7 separate regions of the Homo sapiens genome follow, and all the other regions are linked to region 2. The links are contacts of gene promoters, found by promoter capture Hi-C in blood cells and fetal thymus (Javierre and others, 2016). All regions are on one chromosome and are shown on one strand. Each heading gives the region's core, a stretch centred on a gene start or on the middle of the fragment in contact. The rest is flanking DNA. Distances are from core to core; before and after follow the strand shown.

What was found. Contacts are between HindIII fragments. The CHiCAGO score rates a contact against its expected background, and 5 or more counts as called.
Region 1: a contact is called between a fragment that was not itself captured here and the fragment with the promoter of CCNG1 in region 2, in 2 of 17 cell types (non-activated CD4 T cells and total CD8 T cells). The highest score is 5.3, in non-activated CD4 T cells.
Region 3: a contact is called between a fragment that was not itself captured here and the fragment with the promoter of CCNG1 in region 2, in 1 of 17 cell types (total CD8 T cells). The highest score is 5.3, in total CD8 T cells.
Region 4: a contact is called between a fragment that was not itself captured here and the fragment with the promoter of CCNG1 in region 2, in 1 of 17 cell types (total CD8 T cells). The highest score is 8.1, in total CD8 T cells.
Region 5: a contact is called between a fragment that was not itself captured here and the fragment with the promoter of CCNG1 in region 2, in 1 of 17 cell types (total CD8 T cells). The highest score is 8.3, in total CD8 T cells.
Region 6: a fragment that was not itself captured here is called in contact with the fragment with the promoter of CCNG1 in region 2 in 3 of 17 cell types (activated CD4 T cells, fetal thymus and total CD4 T cells); the score reaches 10.3 in activated CD4 T cells.
Region 7: a fragment that was not itself captured here is called in contact with the fragment with the promoter of CCNG1 in region 2 in 2 of 17 cell types (naive CD8 T cells and non-activated CD4 T cells); the score reaches 10.4 in naive CD8 T cells.

What each region holds. Positions count from the first base shown.
Region 1 is chr5:159,193,925-159,196,624 of GRCh38, forward strand. It overlaps RNF145 (ring finger protein 145), which reads right to left. Exons shown (of 11, transcript NM_001199383.2): 3 at 792-900. Among named protein-coding and RNA genes, the nearest start is that of RNF145, 14 kb to the right of the region's middle. The HindIII fragment of the contact is 1,618 bases long and covers 591-2,208 here.
Region 2 is chr5:163,436,334-163,439,033 of GRCh38, forward strand. CCNG1 (cyclin G1) reads left to right here and starts at 1,262. Exons shown (of 7, transcript NM_004060.4): 1 at 1,262-1,471. It also overlaps a transcript of LOC105377700 not described here. RefSeq lists enhancers at 867-916, 1,358-1,935, 1,627-1,826 and a silencer at 1,107-1,186. The HindIII fragment of the contact is 4,161 bases long and covers 1-2,700 here.
Region 3 is chr5:159,217,145-159,219,844 of GRCh38, forward strand. No RefSeq gene overlaps it. Among named protein-coding and RNA genes, the nearest start is that of RNF145, 8.9 kb to the left of the region's middle. The HindIII fragment of the contact is 6,206 bases long and covers 1-2,700 here.
Region 4 is chr5:159,273,308-159,276,007 of GRCh38, forward strand. It overlaps UBLCP1 (ubiquitin like domain containing CTD phosphatase 1), which reads left to right. Exons shown (of 11, transcript NM_145049.5): 7 at 1,278-1,315; 8 at 1,841-1,939. Among named protein-coding and RNA genes, the nearest start is that of UBLCP1, 11 kb to the left of the region's middle. The HindIII fragment of the contact is 287 bases long and covers 1,237-1,523 here.
Region 5 is chr5:159,252,366-159,255,065 of GRCh38, forward strand. No RefSeq gene overlaps it. Among named protein-coding and RNA genes, the nearest start is that of UBLCP1, 9.6 kb to the right of the region's middle. The HindIII fragment of the contact is 1,037 bases long and covers 924-1,960 here.
Region 6 is chr5:160,014,718-160,017,417 of GRCh38, forward strand. The region is part of intron 2 of TTC1 (tetratricopeptide repeat domain 1); the gene reads left to right. LOC124901124 (a long non-coding RNA gene) reads left to right here. Exons shown (of 2, transcript XR_007059025.1): 1 at 1-2,700. Among named protein-coding and RNA genes, the nearest start is that of TTC1, 6.9 kb to the left of the region's middle. The HindIII fragment of the contact is 1,843 bases long and covers 489-2,331 here.
Region 7 is chr5:159,995,994-159,998,693 of GRCh38, forward strand. No RefSeq gene overlaps it. Among named protein-coding and RNA genes, the nearest start is that of TTC1, 12 kb to the right of the region's middle. The HindIII fragment of the contact is 3,133 bases long and covers 1-2,700 here.

The DNA of each region.
Region 1 (2,700 bases), core at 150-2,649, 4.2 Mb before region 2:
AAATTATACCTCCAAAATATATTCCAACCCACTACTTCATAGTGTAACTTTTGGTCCACCTATATTTTAACATTCTGTTGCAAAGTAGAAAGCTCATATTCATTGGCAGACCCAAGTCTTAAAATTTAGATCTAGCAGACTTAGGTACACAGACAATATGGCTAAAGAGATAGAAGGTTAGCTATACAATCAACCTTACAAGATAATGTATATCAATCATTCACTCCACATGGCTGCATCTTATGCTGATTCTTACACATCATAAATTGATTTCCTAAAGTAATGAAGTCTATAATTGTTAAAATGCTCCTACAGCCTACTTTTAGAAATTCTTTTATCAGGCAATACAGGAAAGTTCAAGGATATCCTCCCGAGTAGATGGGATTACAGGCGCCCGCCACCATGCCCGGCTAATTTTTGTATTTTTAGTAGAGACGAGGTTTCACCATGTTGGCCAGGCTGGTCCCGAACTCCTGACCTGAGGTGATCCACCCGCCTCCCAAAGCGCTGGGATTACAGGTGTGAGCCACCACGCCCAGCCAGTTCAAGGATATCTTTATAAACATAACCTTAAGGCTTGTTTCATGTTAAGCTTGTTTTTAAAAGCAGAAATAAAATGTCAGCATAAACCAGCTATTAATCCTGTGTAAGATTTGGAAAATGAGTATCAAACCAGTTTTGGACCTACCAAAGCCTTAGCTTTACTTAACAGTGTTCATGAAAAGTATTTTATTGGCAAAAGAAAACTTTAAATTCAATCATACATTTCAAAAATGGGGTCATATTCTTACCTGGAAATTTGATGTCCAGCATAGAGGAGCAGAGCAGTCAAAAAATATAGATAAAGCTGAACCAGATGCTGCCTGGGCAATGTTAGCAGCACCACACTTAAGATATAACCTGTACCAGAAAGATAAATAAAATACAATTTTAATTTAGTTTCCCAATTAATTACAATAAAAGAAAGAGCTTGAGACAAATAATTTTCCAAATAGGTTTCAGTACTTTCTGAGGTTTTTTATTATACTTACCAAAGTAAGTTTAGCATAGTGACACCCCTATGGATTTTTTGTTGTTGAAAATGTATTGTGTTTTTCACTTCTTTTGTAGATTTCTCTACCTAATAATCAAATATATCACACAAATGTGTAACACAACTCCTTTCTTCATCTACCTTTCCTTGATATCAACTTACTTGTTTTATGCCAATTCTCTCTTTCTTTCTAGTCCCAGAGGAAAAACTGGGTGTCTTAATGTCTCTTTCCAAGGCTGCCCCTTCCATGTGATTTAAGACCTTATTTCTCCAACCCCTGAAGACTCTCTATCTCCTATACTTTCAGTCGTTCCCCCTGACATCACTCCTTACCTTTGTTTCAAAGAATGTGCAGGGCTTTTACCCATCTTGAGAAAAAAAAAATAAACTTCTTTTCACTGCGATTTTTTTCCTATTATTTTTCTCATTCCACTGTCAAATGTTTGAAAAGATCTATACCCAATGCCTCTATTTTCTAAGCATCTATTCTTCTCTTTACCATCTACAATCCCTTTACAAACCCCCCTAACTTGTTTGCTCTAAAGAAAGTTGGAAGTCAACGACTGCCTACTTATCACATCTAAGACATCCTGCTTATTTTTGATCCCCAATATCCAGGCAACGACCATCAAAACGTTGTTACTCTTTGGCTCTGTTCATATGGATTTCCTCTTACCCTCTAACTTCTCTAATTTCTTTTCACGCTTTCCAATAAACACTGGAAATTTGGTTCCTAAACAACTGTTTTTCTCTATATATAAAGTACCTAGTGCAAACAACATATTTTGTAACTTCAAGTATCAGCATCTCTTCTATAAATGTTATCAACAAAGTTACTGATAACTTATTATACAGGCAAAAACATATCCTCATTTCTTAATCTAAGTAGACATCCCATCTCATGACACCTGAGATATATTCCACTTAAATGTTCTCATATTCAACAAGTACAAACTGTGCTCCCCACCTCCTCCCTCAACAAAGTAACTCAGTGACTCAAAACCTGTCATCTTTTCTCTCTTATCGTCAAGTCCTGCTGAGCCTTCCATGATAAATTCCTCTCATGTGTTACCCTTCCATTCCAACCTCTATGTCCCATATCCTAATCTGCTCTGCAATGCACAGTATACTACCATCCTTCTTTCAGTCTCTATTTTTGTATACCCTATACTTCAAGCTTGTCCAACCCACGGCCCATGGGCTACATGTGGCCCAGGATGGCTTTGAATACAGCCCAACACAAATTCATAAACTTTCTTAAAATATTATGAGTTTTTTTTTTTTTTTTTGCAATTTTAAGCTCATCAGCTATCACTAGTGTTAGCATATTTTATGTGTGGCCCAAGACAATTATTTTCCTAATGTGGTCCAGGGAAGCCAAAAGATTGGACACCCTGATATACTTAATTACCAGGGTAATATTCCTAACACCATCACTTTTACTTGACAATTCTCCTGCTCTAAAAGTTATGAACCTGACATTCTTGGTCTTACACAATCTGGACCCAGTCTACTCTTCTATAACCATCTTCCACTTAATTTACAAATCTTTATTAAGGCACAGGTACTCCTACTTATCCCCTATTGCCTCTCTCATGCTGAATCAATCATGCCAAAAGCTAAGAAAACATGAGCATGCTTGGGACTAAAGAAACAGAACTGAGGAT
Region 2 (2,700 bases), core at 12-2,511:
TTTATTTTCAAAAGGAACAAAGGCCTCTTCCCCATTTGAGCCCCAGTTTCTTAAACTGACCTGATTATGTGGCTAAGGTATTATTGTGAGGTATTGATGTTTTCTCCTGTTTTTCCTTCCCCTTCCTCCCCACCCCTTTTCCCCCTTTCCAGAGTTTTGTTCTGTGGCATTGCCTTGGGTAAGTACACGGCAGGGCAAATAGCAGAGTGACGGCAAATCTTTCAGATTTTCACTTTTTCAAAGTAAGAGAGACCGAACTGGGGCCATGAGAACAGAGACATCCAACTACTGTGTAATTCATAAGAGTTTAGAAATGACTCCTTGTGCACCCTTTTTCAGGCCCTTTTACAAATGGACTTTTCTCACTTGTGATGATCTGGGAGAGTGAGAGTGAGGAGAGTCTAAGAAGAGTTCAGGCTAATTATTTTCCCACTAATCTGGCATAGGAGAGGCTCACAGAGATTAAATTCATTATGGTAAATACAAAGAGTAATACTGCTTTACACTCGGGTCTGTAGACTGAGATTCACACTCACCACAATTATTCCTGTTAACAGTCTGCCACATACCTTTCATTTTAAGCAACTGAAAAATTGTACCAACTTTTCTCTTTAAATTTGCTTTAAAAGCAAATTCAGAAAATTGGTAGAGGGTCAAGAAATTACACAGTCCAACTCCATTATTTGATAAATTGTATAAAAAGCAAACTAAGGCAAGAATCAACTGACTTCCAAAGTTCACGAAGAGAGCACTCTGGAAGTTGATAAACCACCAAACCATATAAATTCCACCACCTCTTTATCTGTAATTAAAAATCAAAGGTTGACTTTTTTTTTTTTAACTACTCACTGTATTTTTAGAAAGATGGGGCAGAACCACTGTAGAACTCCTAAACCCCACAGAACAAACAGTACATTCTGGAATGATACGCCGGCCAATCCGGCTGGCAGCCGATTGACCTGACCCAGGCGAGGGTTGCTGCACCGAGTATTTAGTTTGGCCCCCTACTGAATGAAGACACTTTGTTAAATTCTCCAATGAGAGACGCTTAGAGGTAGGGGCGTGGAAGGGGGCCGGGGAATTTGAGGCCAGATAACGGGAAGTGTGAGCCGATTGGCCGGACTTCTCACTCCACGGCCCAGCCGTTTACGGATCGCGGAGGCCATCCATCAAAAGAATTACACCAATCAGCGGCGAAAATGCCCCCTTCTCGCGAGAAAGCCCCGCCCTCCAATATATTCCTCGTTAGGGCAGGCGCGGCCCCTTCGGCTCCGAGCTGACCCTGATCAGGGCCGAGTTGTCTCGGCGGCGCTGCCGAGGCCTCCACCCAGGACAGTCCCCCTCCCCGGGCCTCTCTCCTCTTGCCTACGAGTCCCCTCTCCTCGTAGGCCTCTCGGATCTGATATCGTGGGGTGAGGTGAGCAGGCCCGGGGAGGGTGGTTACCGCTGAGGAGCTGCAGTCTCTGTCAAGGTGAGTGGGACTGCGCGGGAGTTGACCGCCAGGTGCGGGTGGGGAGCTGGGTTGGGGGCGCGGGGCGAGGAGTAGGTCTGGCCCGCGCCCTTTTCCACACTAAACTCTACCGCTGTTGTGAGCACAAGCCCAGGCTAGTCCGAGGCTGGAGGGGCGGAGCCGGATCCGGCCTCCTGAGGTGCCTTTCGTGTCTGCCGACCCAGTCCCAGGGACTAGCCTGGGGAGGAAGAATGGAACCCCTGCAGTTAGAGGTTCCTCACATGACTAGCTCTGAAGACCTCCTGCCTTCCTGTCTTTAGTTGGTGTGGGAGGGACCTTCCATGTATCCAGGGCTTAGCTTGTGCCCGGGACATGGTTGTGTTATGCACACTTAAATCAATGGAATTCCCAGGTTCATCTTTCAGACTAGGTTAGCAACAACCCACCGCACCCCCCCGCCCCAATACGTGCTCCTAATGTCACCTTTTAAGTTTCCTTTCCTAACAACAATAAAAGTTAAGTAATATTGAGTATTGTGTGCCAAGCACTGTGCTATACTCTTTAAGTGGTGAATCATCTTGTTCAGTCTTCACATTCAGCGACAGATATTGTTACCCTCATTTTATAAATCTAGAAAGAAGCTCAAGCTCATTATTATTGTTCAGTGTTTTTTAAGCGTCTACTGTATGTGCTAAGCTCTTTACGTGATTTCATTTTAACTCACAAATCTGTGAGGTAGGTCATAAACCTTATCCCTACTTTATCAATGTGGAACTAAGTACAATTAAGTAACTTGAACAGTTCATTTTGTTAATATGTGGCAGAATACTTAACTACCATCTGCTTTTCACTTTCGGTATCCTGTCTTACGGTGTTTATTCGTGGTTATCTATTGACAGTGAATAACTTGAACAAGTATTTCTTGAAGATTTGCATTTTATTTTTCTAAAAAGCATGGTTCCGACCGGGCGCGGTGGCTCACGCCTGTAATCCCGGCACTTTGGAAGGCCGAGGCGGGCAGATCACAAGGCCAGGAGACCGAGACCATCCTGGCCAACATGGTGAAACCCCGTCTCTACTAAAAATATAAAAATTAGCTGGGCGCGGTGGCGCATGCCTGTAATCCCAGCTCCTCGGGAGGCTGAGGCAGGAGAATCGCTTGAACCAGGGAGTCGGAGGTTGCAGTGAGCCAAGATCGTGCCACTGTACTCCAGCCTGGCAACAGAGCGAGACTCCTTCTCAAAAAAAAA
Region 3 (2,700 bases), core at 33-2,532, 4.2 Mb before region 2:
TCACCATGTTATCCAGGCTGGTCTCAAACTCCTGACCTCAAGTAATCCCCCCATCTCAGCCTCCCAAAGTGCTGGGATTACAGGTGTGAGCCACCCCACAGGCCGGAAATTTGCATTTTATTGTATGTTAGGCTTTGAGGATGTAACAGTAAATCTCAAGAGTCTCTGACCCCAAGACCTTCCAATGTCTTAGAGTGGGGGCAGACACATAAATGATGTGGGTTGGTTATCACAGATATACAAAGTGGTGTGGGTTAGTTGTGATAGAGGTGAGAAAATGTTACCATGAAAATGCAAATAGTGTGAAGTGGGTGGGATTAGCCCATTTGTGGGTTCTTGAGGGGATGGGGAGAGATATTCTGAGTGTTGAAAAATGCATAGGAGTCAGCTGAACGGGTGCTGACTCACACCTATAATCCCAGCACTTTGGGAGGCCAAGGTGGGTGGATCACCTGAGGTCAGGAGTTCAAGACCAGCCTGACCACCATGGTGAAACCCTGTGTCTACTGAAAATACAAAAATTAGCTGGGCGTGGCCGGGCATGGTGGCTCACGCCTGTAATCCCAGTACTTTGGGAGGCCAAGGTGGGTGGATCACCTGAGGTCAGGAGTTTGAGACCAGCCTGACCAACATGGCGAAAACCCATCTCTACTAAAAAAAAATAAAAATATTAGCCAGACATGGTGGCATGCACCTGTAGTCCCTCCCAACTATTCAGGAGTCTGAGGTGGGACGATGGCTTCAGCCCAGGAGGCGGAGGTTGCAGTGAGCCGAGATCACGCCACTGCATTCCAGCCTGCACAAAAAAGCCAGACCCAGTCTCAAAAAAAGAAAAAAAAATCTTCAAACAACCCATGGAGAGTCAACAGCTTCTCACAATAGTTGATCAGTTATAAAAAGCCAGCTAGCTTCTACCAGTTAAGATACCAGTAACAGTGGTGCCAATTGTTCAGATTATATGAAATTACAACTCCTATGTGTTATATATTCTATAATGTGAAGCAACTTGTGCACCCTGCAAACCAGGGTCCCTTGTAAATCACTGCATGGAGTAGTTTCATGGAGTAATAGGAGAATCAGTGATATTGTGGGTCCTCTTTTATCAATTATGTCACTTACCGCTGCGTATCCATATATTCTTTTTAATAAACTGCTATATATTAAAAAAAAAAAAAAAAAGACGTGCACCCAGAAGTGAAAGAATCAAGTTTAGGCACCTGCCAGATGCAGACAACCTGAAGACCACCAGCAACCTGCACTGCCTTAGCTGGCTTCTGCCCAGGTGGGGTCTGATGCAGCTGCTGGTGCCTGGGAAGGATTTAAGTGGGGGAGAGAGAGCATAAGGTGACCACAGGCCCTCACAAGTGCAGAGAACTCTCACTTTTTGGATGGAGATTGAGGCATTTAATTAATATCTTGACACATTTCTAATTACCAAAGCCAGACTGATTTTTTACTTAAAGTGAGTAGGAGTGCCCACTAATTAAGAATTCTTGATATCTGTCCAAGTTTCCACTGGAAGGCAGAAAAAAATTACTCCTTCTGAATACTTAAAGGGATAGTGAGTGATAAAATCAGATTGCATTTTGATTGCATCACAAATCTTCCGAGTTACTTCCAGAGTGTAAAGTTCATATAAGAAAGGATATGCAAAACAATTATGATTGGATCTCAGATTTACAGAGGGAATGGGGGGAAAGATGAGGTAAGCTGGGGCCAGTCCAGGAGTTAAGGAGGGACTTTTCATGCCATGCGAAGGAGTTTGGACTTTAACACAGAAATCAGTTAAATGCTGAGGAGTTGACTTAGAAGAGTAACATTTAGGGCATTTACTATGTTTTAGGTCCTGTACTAGGTAGTTTACATGAATTATCACATTTAATTATCATGAAAAACCTATGAAGTAGATAGTATAATTATTGCCATTCTAAAAATGAGAGAACTGAGGCATAGAGAGGTCAAGTAACTTGTCCAGAGTCACGCAGCTAGCAGCAGCAGAACTCAGATACAACCCAGACTTGTCAGGGTTCTATGTGTATATCCCCCATTATGCTGCACCTGCTTCCTGTCCCACTGATAATGCCAGGATAGATGATGAGTTTGTTCACAGAGTGTAGAACTCAAGCCCCACTGGTGTCTCCTTAGTAATGAATGAACGATTATTTTACCTGAAATGACTATATAAACAAAAGACAATAACACTTCAGGAATCTTCCCTGTGAGTTATCTTTGTTTTTGTTTTTGTTTTTGTTTTTTGAGACAAAGGCTCACTTTGTTGCCCATGCTGGAGTGGAGTGCCATGATCTCGGCTCACTGCAACCTCTGCCTCCTGGGTTCAAGCGATTCTGCCTCAGCCTCCTGAGTAGCTGGAACTACAGTCATGCGCCACCACTCCCAGCTAATTTTTGTATTTTTAGTAGAGATGGGGTTTCACCATGTTGGCCAGGCTGGTCTTGAACTCCTGACCTCAGGTGATCCACCCACCTCGGCCTCCCAAAGTGTTGGGATTACAGGCGTGGGCCACCGCGCCAGGCCCCTGTGAGTTTTCTTTGATGTCTGATATGGTTTGGCTGTGTCCCCATCCAAATCTCATCTTGAATTGTGGCTCCCATAATTCCCACCTGGGAGGTAATTGAATCATGGGGGCAGGTTTTTCCCATGCTGTTCTCGTGATAGTGAATAAGTCTCACGAGATCTGAT
Region 4 (2,700 bases), core at 130-2,629, 4.2 Mb before region 2:
AGAACCTTTTACAATAGTATATTTAAATTATTTTTATAAACTGTGATATTTTGTGGTAGTTCATTGAAAAGAGTACTTCACTTTGGAGCTAAATAGACTAGGATTTTAATTCTGGCTCTGTTCTTACTGTGTGACACTGGACAGGTCACTTAATCTTTCTGAGCCTTAGTTCCCTCACTTGAGAAATGAAGATATCTAAATACATATTACAGGTTAGTTGTAAGAATAGAAGTATCAATATAGCAACTAGTACTATGTCTGACATATAGTTACTTAATAATTAGAAACTTTTTATTAGCTGTGGGTCTTTTTGTTTTTCGTCTGATAATTACAGATACAAAGTAAGTACCGGATTAAAATTTTTTTCTATCTTATGATTATTTTCATTGGAGATACAATAGTCTTTAAAATTTTAGCTCAACTGACCAGTTTTGTACGTGTAAGGTGATTCTTCTGTTTTTTTGTATGTGTGCATGCTGAAGATTTTTTATTTTGAGAACTCAGGTTCCTCTTTTGCTTTTAAAAATCACACACACACACACACACACACACACACACACACTTCAAATAATTAAATTGCTTTTTCTCTTTTTAAACATTTTACTTGGTTATACCTGTATAGTTTAGTCCAGTAAACCAGGAGAGCACATAAAGATGAGGATTTAATTTTAGTATTAATGATCTCAAAGCTGGTTAATGTCTGACAATGAGCAGATACATGATGCAGGTATACTTCATGAATTTGTCTCATTTCTTGTTAGAAGCTGCTAGACTCAGTGAGCTTTAATTTGCTGAGACTGACAAAATGCAGATTTTCACTGAACCTGACTAGCTGGTTTTCAACATAAACTTTTGACACATAACAATATGCTTATATTGACACTATGTATACCTGTGCATTGCCTAGAAGTAGGAACATGGAAAAAAGTGATCCAGGCACCCAAGTTTAAGTTTGGAATTGATAGAGTGTCAGGGCTGATTTAAAAAGAGAGTTTAGGTCTTGATTTATAAATTTCCTAGGTTCAGAGTTCTTTTGAGCATGGATTACCTGTATCTTACAGATAAAAGTTGTTTAAAATTTATTCTGTCTTGAAGACACACTGCAGTAAGTTTACTTTTATCAATATTTAAAAGAAAATTACCATAAGTATGCTAGGGACTGTTAATTCTGATGCATTTAAACTTTTAGTTTTGCTTAGAAAACTTACTTATACAGATTTTTTTTAAAGAAATTCAAGCTTTTCATATGTATTGTATTATCATTCCTCGTGTTTTAGCTGCAACAAATATGAAGTGGATTGAAGCTAAAATGAAAGTAAGTGTTAGAAAGCAATCCATTTAAAAATATTTTCAAACTGCATTTGTCTTGTTAAAAGTTCTAGAACTGAATTAATTTTATTCTTACTGGAGGGCACTTAGTAGATAGATAAATGCCATTATTGGGAGTAGAGGTGTTTTTAAAGTGTGTTTAATAAGTGGATTGTACTGAATCCCTAAGTCTTTTTTAAGAAAAAGTATAACTAAGCTTGTCCCCTCCCCCACATTCTTCCTCATTTTACAATAATACTTTATTTTCCTTCTTTTGCTCTAGTGTGCAATACTTAAAGAGTCAGTATTCTCCTAAAATGGTAAATTAGGAAGTAATCTATTTCTATTTTCCTTGGTTTACCATTTATTGACTTGGCTAAGTGAAACTAAAATACTTCCTAGTTGTTTAGCAAGATGTAGTGGCCAGTGGTGTAGAAAGTTGGCATTATGAGAAATTGCAGCTAGAATATTCAGAAAATCTGAAATTTTCCACACTACTATGTTTTAACCTCACAAATATTTGTGTTTATAGGAGCTGGGAGTGAGCACAAATGCAAATTATAAGATTACTTTCATGTTGGATAGTGCTGCTATGATAACAGTACATACTCCAAGGAGAGGATTAATAGACGTAAGAAGTCATTTTATTTCTATTTAATGACACCATGGTTATTTTCCAGTGTACTTTTTATGTTTATACCTATGGAGTAAATAGTGTAGAGATTCATCTGAGTGAATAATAAAGTGGTTGAGTTTTGACATAGGAAAATGTATTTAAGGTTAAAAGATTTTTTTTTTTTTTTTTTTTTTTTTTTGAGATGGAGTCTCATTGTGCCGCCCAGGCTGGAGTGCAGTGGTGCAATCTCGCTCACGCAAGCTCCGCCTCCCAGGTTCACGCCATTCTCCTGCCTCAGCCTCCTGAGTAGCTGGGACTACAGGCACCCGCCACCACGCCCGGCTAATTTTTTCGTATTTTCAGTAGAGACGGAGTTTCACTGTTGTTAGCCAGGATGGTCTCGATCTCCTGACCTCGTGATCCGCCTGCCTCGGCCTCCCAAAGTGCTGGGATTATGGGCGTGAGCCACTGTGCCCAGCCAAGGTTAAAAGATTTGAATTTTAATGATAAAATTAGGGATCTTGAAGTAGGACTGTCAAGAAAGGAACTTGTGATTGTGGGTAATTGACCTGTGTTGATGACAGCACAATGTTACTGGGCAGAGTAGGTGAGAAAAATACTGAATATTATCAAGGAAGATACTAGAAACAAGCGAAAACACTCACCCTGCCCTGTTTGAAACTGGTAATAAAAGCAGATGCATCATGATGCATGTACTTTGGGATGATGCTGAAGAATAGCAACAAGAACAATCAGAGAAAAGGGTTTGGCTAACC
Region 5 (2,700 bases), core at 192-2,691, 4.2 Mb before region 2:
CCTTAGGCAGAACTGATTGGTTCAGAGAAGGACATGTGGCCTAAGTGAGGCCAATAAGATTCTATCTCAGGATTTTGGAATTTGGAGCTGAGCAATACAGAAACTAGGAGTCAGAGTCATATGAATGGCAGTGTTCTTGAGAGAAGGTCTATGGATCTAGAATTTATTGTTGAGGATCTTGGACTCACCTTGACTCCTGGTTCAACGACAGGCATAACTGTGTCTGGTACTGTGCTCTTTCTAATACTGCTCTCCTGCTTCCTCTCCTCAACTCCCTTTAGGCTCAAGCTAGCATGTTTAAGTTTCTGTTATTTAAAACCATAAATAATATTTCAAAACAAGTCACTTGAGGTAATATTTATACAGTAGCAAGAAAAAAATTACTACTTTGATGTTTTCAATAAAATTCTACATACTAAATGTAAATTTTCTATAAAATTTATTTAAGTATGAATGATGAAGCTCTGAAAATTCCAGGAGAGATATATGCAGATATCAGGGAAGTAATAATAGCTGTCAATAAAGAGGAAGAACATGAATTTTCCATTTGGTTTTACGGATTACGTGATGCTTATGTTTCTCATTTTGCAAACGGAAGATTGATGGAAACTGTCAAAATCTAGCCCAGGCCCATAGGCTGTTGTCTGAGAACTATTAAACCATAGAGGCTCTGAAACACAGAACGTATTTATCTTTTTGTCTTTTGGCTATTCAATAAACTCATTTTTACAAATGGAATTGAGGTCAGGGGAAATTGATTGCCTCAAGGTCAGGAGGGCAATTTTAGGCAAGGCTGCTTCTAGAACCCTGTCTAATGCTCTTTGGAAATAAACACATTGTTAAAGAAATGTCTCCTGAAGATTGGAAGCATAATGAATAAAACAAGGTAGCCTAGTCATTACAGATAGCTTATTGGTAATCAAAGCTTGCCTTGTTGTGTTGTAAATGTTTAGATTGTAACTGTCTAAACATTTCATTGATATTTTTTGAAGCATGGGAGATATTAATTTATTCACTTATGAGTCACTGTGGATGTAAAAAAACAAATAAATGAAATTACTTCATAATGTTAAATACTACAACATAACAATTTGATGTTCTTTTTTAAGATTTCATAGTGAATGTGATTAGGCAGCAATATATTATGCTAAAATTTTCATCTCAGAAATAGTTTCATTAGCCTAGAATTTGTGGGTTGGGACATTGTAATTATTATTCCATAAGTAAGAAGATACTATCTCTAATGCACAAGACTTTGGATATAAAAGAGAAGCACACATTTTATTGTTCCTATTAAAACTGTGCATGGGACATCTATGGAAGGTCTGTTCCACCCTTTGACTGTGGGAAAATTTCTACTCTATATTCTTCTCTATAAATGATAATGAAATTAAATGAATGTAGATATTCTGCCACCCTGCAATCTTTACTAACTTTGAAGTTTTCATTTTGTTTACTAAATAAAGAAAACTAATATATTAACCACCTGTGTCAAAGAAAAGTAGAATCAGTTTTTTATAATGAGTACATATTATTATTATTATTATTTTGTATTTTTGAGACGGAGTTTCGCTCTTGTTGCCCAGGCTGTAGTGCAATGGCACAATCTTGGCTCACTGCAACCTCTCCCTCCTGGGTTCAAGCTATTCTCCTGCCTCAGCCTCCTGAGTAGCTGGGATTACAGGTGCCTGCCACCACGCCCAGCTAATTTTTTGTATTTTTTGTAGAGATGGGGTTCACCATGTTGGCCAGGCTGGTTTCAAATTCCTGACCTCAGGTGATCCACCCAACTCAGACTCCCAAACTGCTGGGATTACAGGCGTCAGCCACAGCGCCCAGCCGAGTACATGTTATTTTTATAAATGAGAGAAAATGCATTTTACTGTTAGAATAAGTGGAATCAAGTCATGATAATGTTTTTCACTCCTGTTGGTAACTTTTCAGCCCTATATTTAGGTTAAGCTTGCTATATCATATTTATTCATTTATTTTGTTTTGTTTTGTTTGCTGTGTCATATATAGATATGTTTTGTTTTCAAAACGAAAACAAAAAAATGCCTTTTTTTCTCATTGTAAAAGTAATACAGAGATTTCCAGTTCCAAGACAGTTCCAGTTGCACGTCTCCCTATTCTTCTGCTAAGTATAGCTAAAAATCCTGGACAGTATATGTAAAATAAATATAAGGGGACTCTGGAAGGTAGAAATAAGGCAGATTGGCTATTTACCTTAAAAAACATGCTAGCAAATTCCTTGGGATTTCTTTTTGTTTCATATATCCCAGACTACGTACTGGCAATACAGGCAACCTAGAAATGCCAGGGGGTTCATGTAACACTCCCCCATCCCTACCCCAAGCCTGCTGTCTCTAGACAAAGGACCAGGAAAGGAACAGCCTGGTAAGGCAGAAAACATTTAGTTAATAACCACATATGCAGAAAAGTTACCATGGGAGGCCTAAGCCTGCCATCCTTAGAAATTCTTGCTTGCAAGATTGGTCTTTGGCTGGCATCTGGGAACATCCTACAGTTCCTATACAGATATGAAACTTTCCCCAAATGATAAGAATGGCTCACTGAGACTAGACTGTTGGCAAACAATGTAGCTTCTGCTGCACAGCTGCTTTCCTTCTGAGAGTCTGCAGTTTTGATAGGTGCAAGACAGTGGGTATCTACATGATGACATAGTTTGTCTGTGTCCCC
Region 6 (2,700 bases), core at 160-2,659, 3.4 Mb before region 2:
ATAATTTTAAAATCGTCACATGTGGCTAGTAAGTACCATATTGGACATGACAGCATTAACGCTGATTCTCTTGTAGCCATTTATTTCAAGGAAATTATTAGAAATATACACAAATGTATATACATAGATGTGTTGCAGCATCATTCATAATTTTGGAAAGCTAGACAATGTTAAACAGGGTATTTGTAGTATAGTAAATTTATTTGGTCTTTGTCCCTGGTTCCTGTTACAGAGCCACTAGAACCCTTGGAATTTTCTGATAGTGTAGTGTATTTTTTTGTTATTCTTAATGTACCCCTTTTGATAACACCTGAGTTCATCCTAATGAGATAACTTTTAGGATCTGGCCTATCTATAGCCTAAGGAAGGATGGGGCCAGTCACCAAAAAGACTAAGTGATTAGAGTTTTAGAGGGTTGGAACTTTTGGCACCACCTACCAAAATCCAGGAAAGGAGGAGGGCAAGTGCTGGAGATTAAGCTCCATTAAAGCTTTTTTCTTCTTGTGTTTTGAGCCAAGTCTCGCTCTGTTGCCCAGGCTGGAGTGCAGAGGTGCGATCATAGTTCACTGGAGGCTTCAACCTCCTGGGCTCAAGCAATCCTCCTACATCAATGTCCCAAGTGGCTGGGACCACAGGCGCCTTCCACCACACCTTGCTAAATTTTTTTGTGTTTGAAATGAAGTCTTACTATGTTGCCCAGGCTGGTCTCGAACTCCTGGACTCAAGCAATATTCCCATCTCAGCTTCCCACAGTGCTAGGATTACAGGTGTGAGCTGCTGCGCCTGGCCTATAAAAACTCTTGAACTAGAAATCTGATGAGCTTCCAGGTTGATGAGCACATGGAAGTGTTAAGAGGGTAGCACCCAGAGAGGGCGTGGCAGCTCTGCACCCCTTCTCCCTCTACCTTTCCCTGTGTGTCTCTTCACCTGGCTGTTCTATATCATTCATAATGTCCTTTGTAATAAACTACTAAGTGTAAGTAAAGTGTTTCCCAGAGTTCTGTGAGCCATTCTAGCAAATTATTGAACCCACAGAGAGGGTGGTAAGAACCCTGTGCTAACCATTCAGTCGGAATCATAGGTCACAACCTGGGACTTGTGATTAGTGTCTGAAGTGGGGCCAGGCTTATGAGACTAAACTCTTAACCTGTGGGATCAGACACTGTCTACCTGGAGATAGTGACAGAACTGAATTGAATTATAGGACACTCCGTTGGTGTCCATTGGAGAATTGTTTAGTGTGGAAAACACTCTCATCTGGTGTCAGACCTATTGGGAGGGTATAGTAGGAGAGAAAAATGTGTTCTTCCCAGAGTATTACTTAAATTTTGTTGTTATATTTATGTAGTATACAATGCAGTTGTTAAAGGTAAATCTTGGCCGGGTGCAGTGGCTCATGCCTATAATCCCAGCACTTTGGGAGGCCAAGGTGGGCAGACCACTCAAGACCAGGAATTCAAGACCAGCCTGGCCAACATGGTGAAACCCCATCTCTACTAAAAATACAAAAATTAGCCAGGTATGGCGGTGCACACCTATAGTCCCAGCTACTTAGAAGGCTGAGGCACGAGAATTGCTTGAACCTAGGAGGCGGAGGTTGCAGAGAGCCGAGATCACGCCACTGCACTCCAGCCTGGGTGACAGAATGAGACTCTGTCTCAATAAATAAATAAATAATTTAAAAAATTTTTTTAAAAAGATGAATCGTAGGTATTGACCTGGGAAGCTGCCTGTAATATAATGTCAAATTAATTAATCAGGTTATACAACAGTGATGATTTCTTTTAAGGCTATGTGAAAATATGTTTATACATACAAATTTGAAGGATATACACCAAAGTATAAGCAGTAAGTAACTTTGAGAGGTATGATTATTAGGGAATTTTAATTTATATGTAATGCAATTTTGTAATATTTGCTTTTTTTTTCAGTAAGCCTGTATTACATTATTCCATTTTAAGAATATAAATAAATAAAAATTGATTACTTTACAACCAAACTGTGTGCCCTACCACAAAAGCACATGAAGCTGACCCCTGATGATTTGGGAAAGAAGTGCTATTCCGTACAGGGTCTATGTAGTATTAAAGGTTTCTTGTTGGACACAACCAAATAATAGTAGCCAAAGTCTGTTAATCAAGCTAACTTCACTTGTCCTGTGGCTGGGAAGATAATTCACGCTCAAGTGTAGTGTCACTTCTCAGCAGGACTCATAAATCAAGAATAATTGAGGAGGAAAGCAGTTAAGATTTGGTAAAAACAGGAAAAGCTCTCAGAGAGTATAGTGTATTCGTGTGTTTATTTCAGCAGTAAATCTTAACTATTTGTGAAAGCTTAAATGTAGATATAACTACCCACAGGAATGGAATTTTAGCTAACATTTGAGATGTACTAGGTATGTGAAGCAAATAACTGGTTCTGAGAGGCTTGGCTAAGGTGAAGGACAAATGTAGCAGCAGAAGAGAATTGCAATAATAACATTATGATACAAAAATTCTATCTTAGTGTGTTGGAGCTGCTATAACAAAATACCTTAGACTGGATAACTTATAAATAATAGAAATTTATTGCTCATAATTCTGGAGGCTGAGAAGTCCAAGATCAAGGTGCCAGCAATTTTAGTGTCTGGTGAGGGCCTCTTCCTTACAGATGGCACCATTTGTGTCCCTACATGGCAGCAGGGGCAGGGCAGCTCCCTTC
Region 7 (2,700 bases), core at 153-2,652, 3.4 Mb before region 2:
TGCCTCCATGTCTGTGGTTGTTAGCCACTAATTATTAGGTGTTTCGTCTGTGTCAGCATTTTCATAAACTGTTCCTCTCCCTGGGACATGGTAAGTATTTCCTCAGGCTGACTTTGAGGCAGTGGACCAAAGCTGCAGCTGGAGAAAGCGGGCTGGGGTTGGGGAGGGCTTAATGGGATTTTGAGTCTGTGTGAGTGATTTTTAAGCTGTGAGTCAATTTGGTAGAAAGAGCACTGAACTGCAATCCACTGAAACAGTAATAATAATAATAGCTGCTTTTTGCTGTGCCAGGCACTGCCTAAGTCCTCTGTATCTTCTAATCCTCACCAAAAAACCTTAAATGAAGGACTTAGGGCTCAGAGAGAGTAAGTCACCCAGCCAGGAAGAGCTGTGTATCAGTTAGGGGAGTGAGTTTGGCTGCACATAACAGAACACACATAACAGTGGCTTGAACAAATCAAAAAGGGCTGTTTGTTTATTTTTTCTCTCATATGAGAAGTCTGGAAGTAGGCAGTCTGGGGACAGTGGGGATAGTATGGCAAATCCACACTGTCAGGAGAGGCCCATGGCCCTTCTAGTGTTTCCCTACTCTGTCCTTAAAATGTGGCCATAATGTCCCTCTTCCAGGCAGGAAGAAATATGGCAAAGACAAAAGGCACATACAGGGCCAGGTGTGGTGGCTTATACCTGCAATCCCAGCCACTCAGGAGACCAAGGTGGGAGGGTTGCTTGAGCCCAGGAGTTTGAGACCAGCCTGGACTGCATAGCAAGATCCCCTCTACAAAGAAATTTAAAAACAAAAAATTATCCAGGCATGGTGGTACGCCCCTATAGTCCCAGCTACTCAGGAGACTGAGGCAAGAGGATCACTTGAGCCCAGGAGCTGCAGGTTGCTGTGAACTATGATTGCACCACTGCACTGCAGGCTGGGCAACAGAGTGGGACTCTGTCTATAAAAACAAACAAACTGGCCAGGTGTGGTGGCTCATGCCTGTAATCCCAGCACTTTGGGAGGCTGAGGCCAGTGGATCACCTGAGGTCAGAAGTTCGAGACCAGCCTGGCAACATGGTGAAACCCTGTCTCTACGAAAAATACAAAAATCAGCCGGGCATGGTAACGGGTGCCTGTAATCCCAGCTACTTGGGAGGCTGAGGCAGGAGAATCGCTTGAACCCAGGAGGCGGAGGTTGCAGTGAGCCAAGATCGTGCCACTGCAATCCAGCCTGGGTGACAAAGTGAGACTGTCTAAAAACAAACAAACAAACATTCTCCTCCAGTGTGGCAAAAAGAATTTTTGAAATCAAATAAAAACAAACAAAAAGACACATACAGCTGAGTTTGCCCTCTGTTACAGAGATTTCCAGAAAGTCTCATCTCTCTGCTTCTACTGTGTTGTGTGGCCAGTTTTCTACAAATGCCTATTGTGTCACTGGTACTGTGCTAAGATTTTACATATATTGTTACATTTATTCCTCATAACAGCCTTATAGAGAAGGAATTACCAACCTCTGGGTTCTAGTTTATTCCCTGCTATGTGGCTAAAATGTCTTAGATAAATCACATTCCCTCTCTGGACCTCATTTGTTCATCTGCTTTATGAGGGATTGGACTAGATAAGGAGTTCCTAACTTGAGATCTACAAACCCCTAAAGGGACAATGGATAAAATTTAGAGGGAAGGGTCATGACTTTAGATAGGGGGAAAATTACATTCTTATCTTCACTAACTTTTTTTTTTTTTTGAGACAGAGTCTTGCACTGTCACCCAGGCTGGAGTGCAGTGGCCCAATCTCGGCTCACTGCAACCTCTGCCTCCCAGTTTTAAGCAATTCTCCTGCCTCAGCCTCCCAAGTAGCCAGGATTACAGATGACCACCACCCCGCCTGGCTAATTTTTGTATTTTCAGTAGAGATGGGGTTTCACCATGTTGGCCGGGCTGGCCTCAAACTCCCGACCTCAGGTGATCCTCCTGCCTCGGCCTCCCAAAGTGCTAGGATTACAGGCGTAAGCCACCGCGCCTGGCCTCTAACTTTTAACTGAAATTTAGTTTTTCCTTCTTTTATGAACTTAGCCAATAGAACATAGTAATATTAGCAGAGCTTTTGACTTTATCACCAAAAGAATATCAGATATTTCATAGCATATTACAGTTGTTTCAGATGACTTGAAATATTGAATATACTCATCACTACTTCAAAATTGTGGTAGTTATTACACCTGCTATACTTAATGTGTTAATAAAAAGGAGTGTGTGTGTAGACAAACAGAATATGTAGATACGTAGATATATATATCTTGCTAATTTTATTGTTAGTATTATAGGAACTGTATTTCAATATAATTTATTTCCTTCATATTCCAGTATATTTTGTTTTATGCATTTAAAAAAATTTCTCTGAGAAGCGATCCAGAGGCTTCAGCAGCCCACCAAAGGAGTTCATAGAACAAATGAGATGAAGAACTGGACAGAGATCTCTTTGTCCCTCCGGCTATAAATATAACTCTGTCATAAGCTATCGTGGTCTTCCTGATCAAGTCCTTTCAGCTCTCAATTTCCTCAGTTTCTCTTCGGTAAAATGGAAGTAATACTTGCTTTGTCTAGCTCAGAGCTGTTAGGGGAACCAAAGTAATCTTCATGTAAGCACACACGAATGCAGAGCTTACGCATTTTCAATTACACAGGATCGGCTTCTGTAGTGCT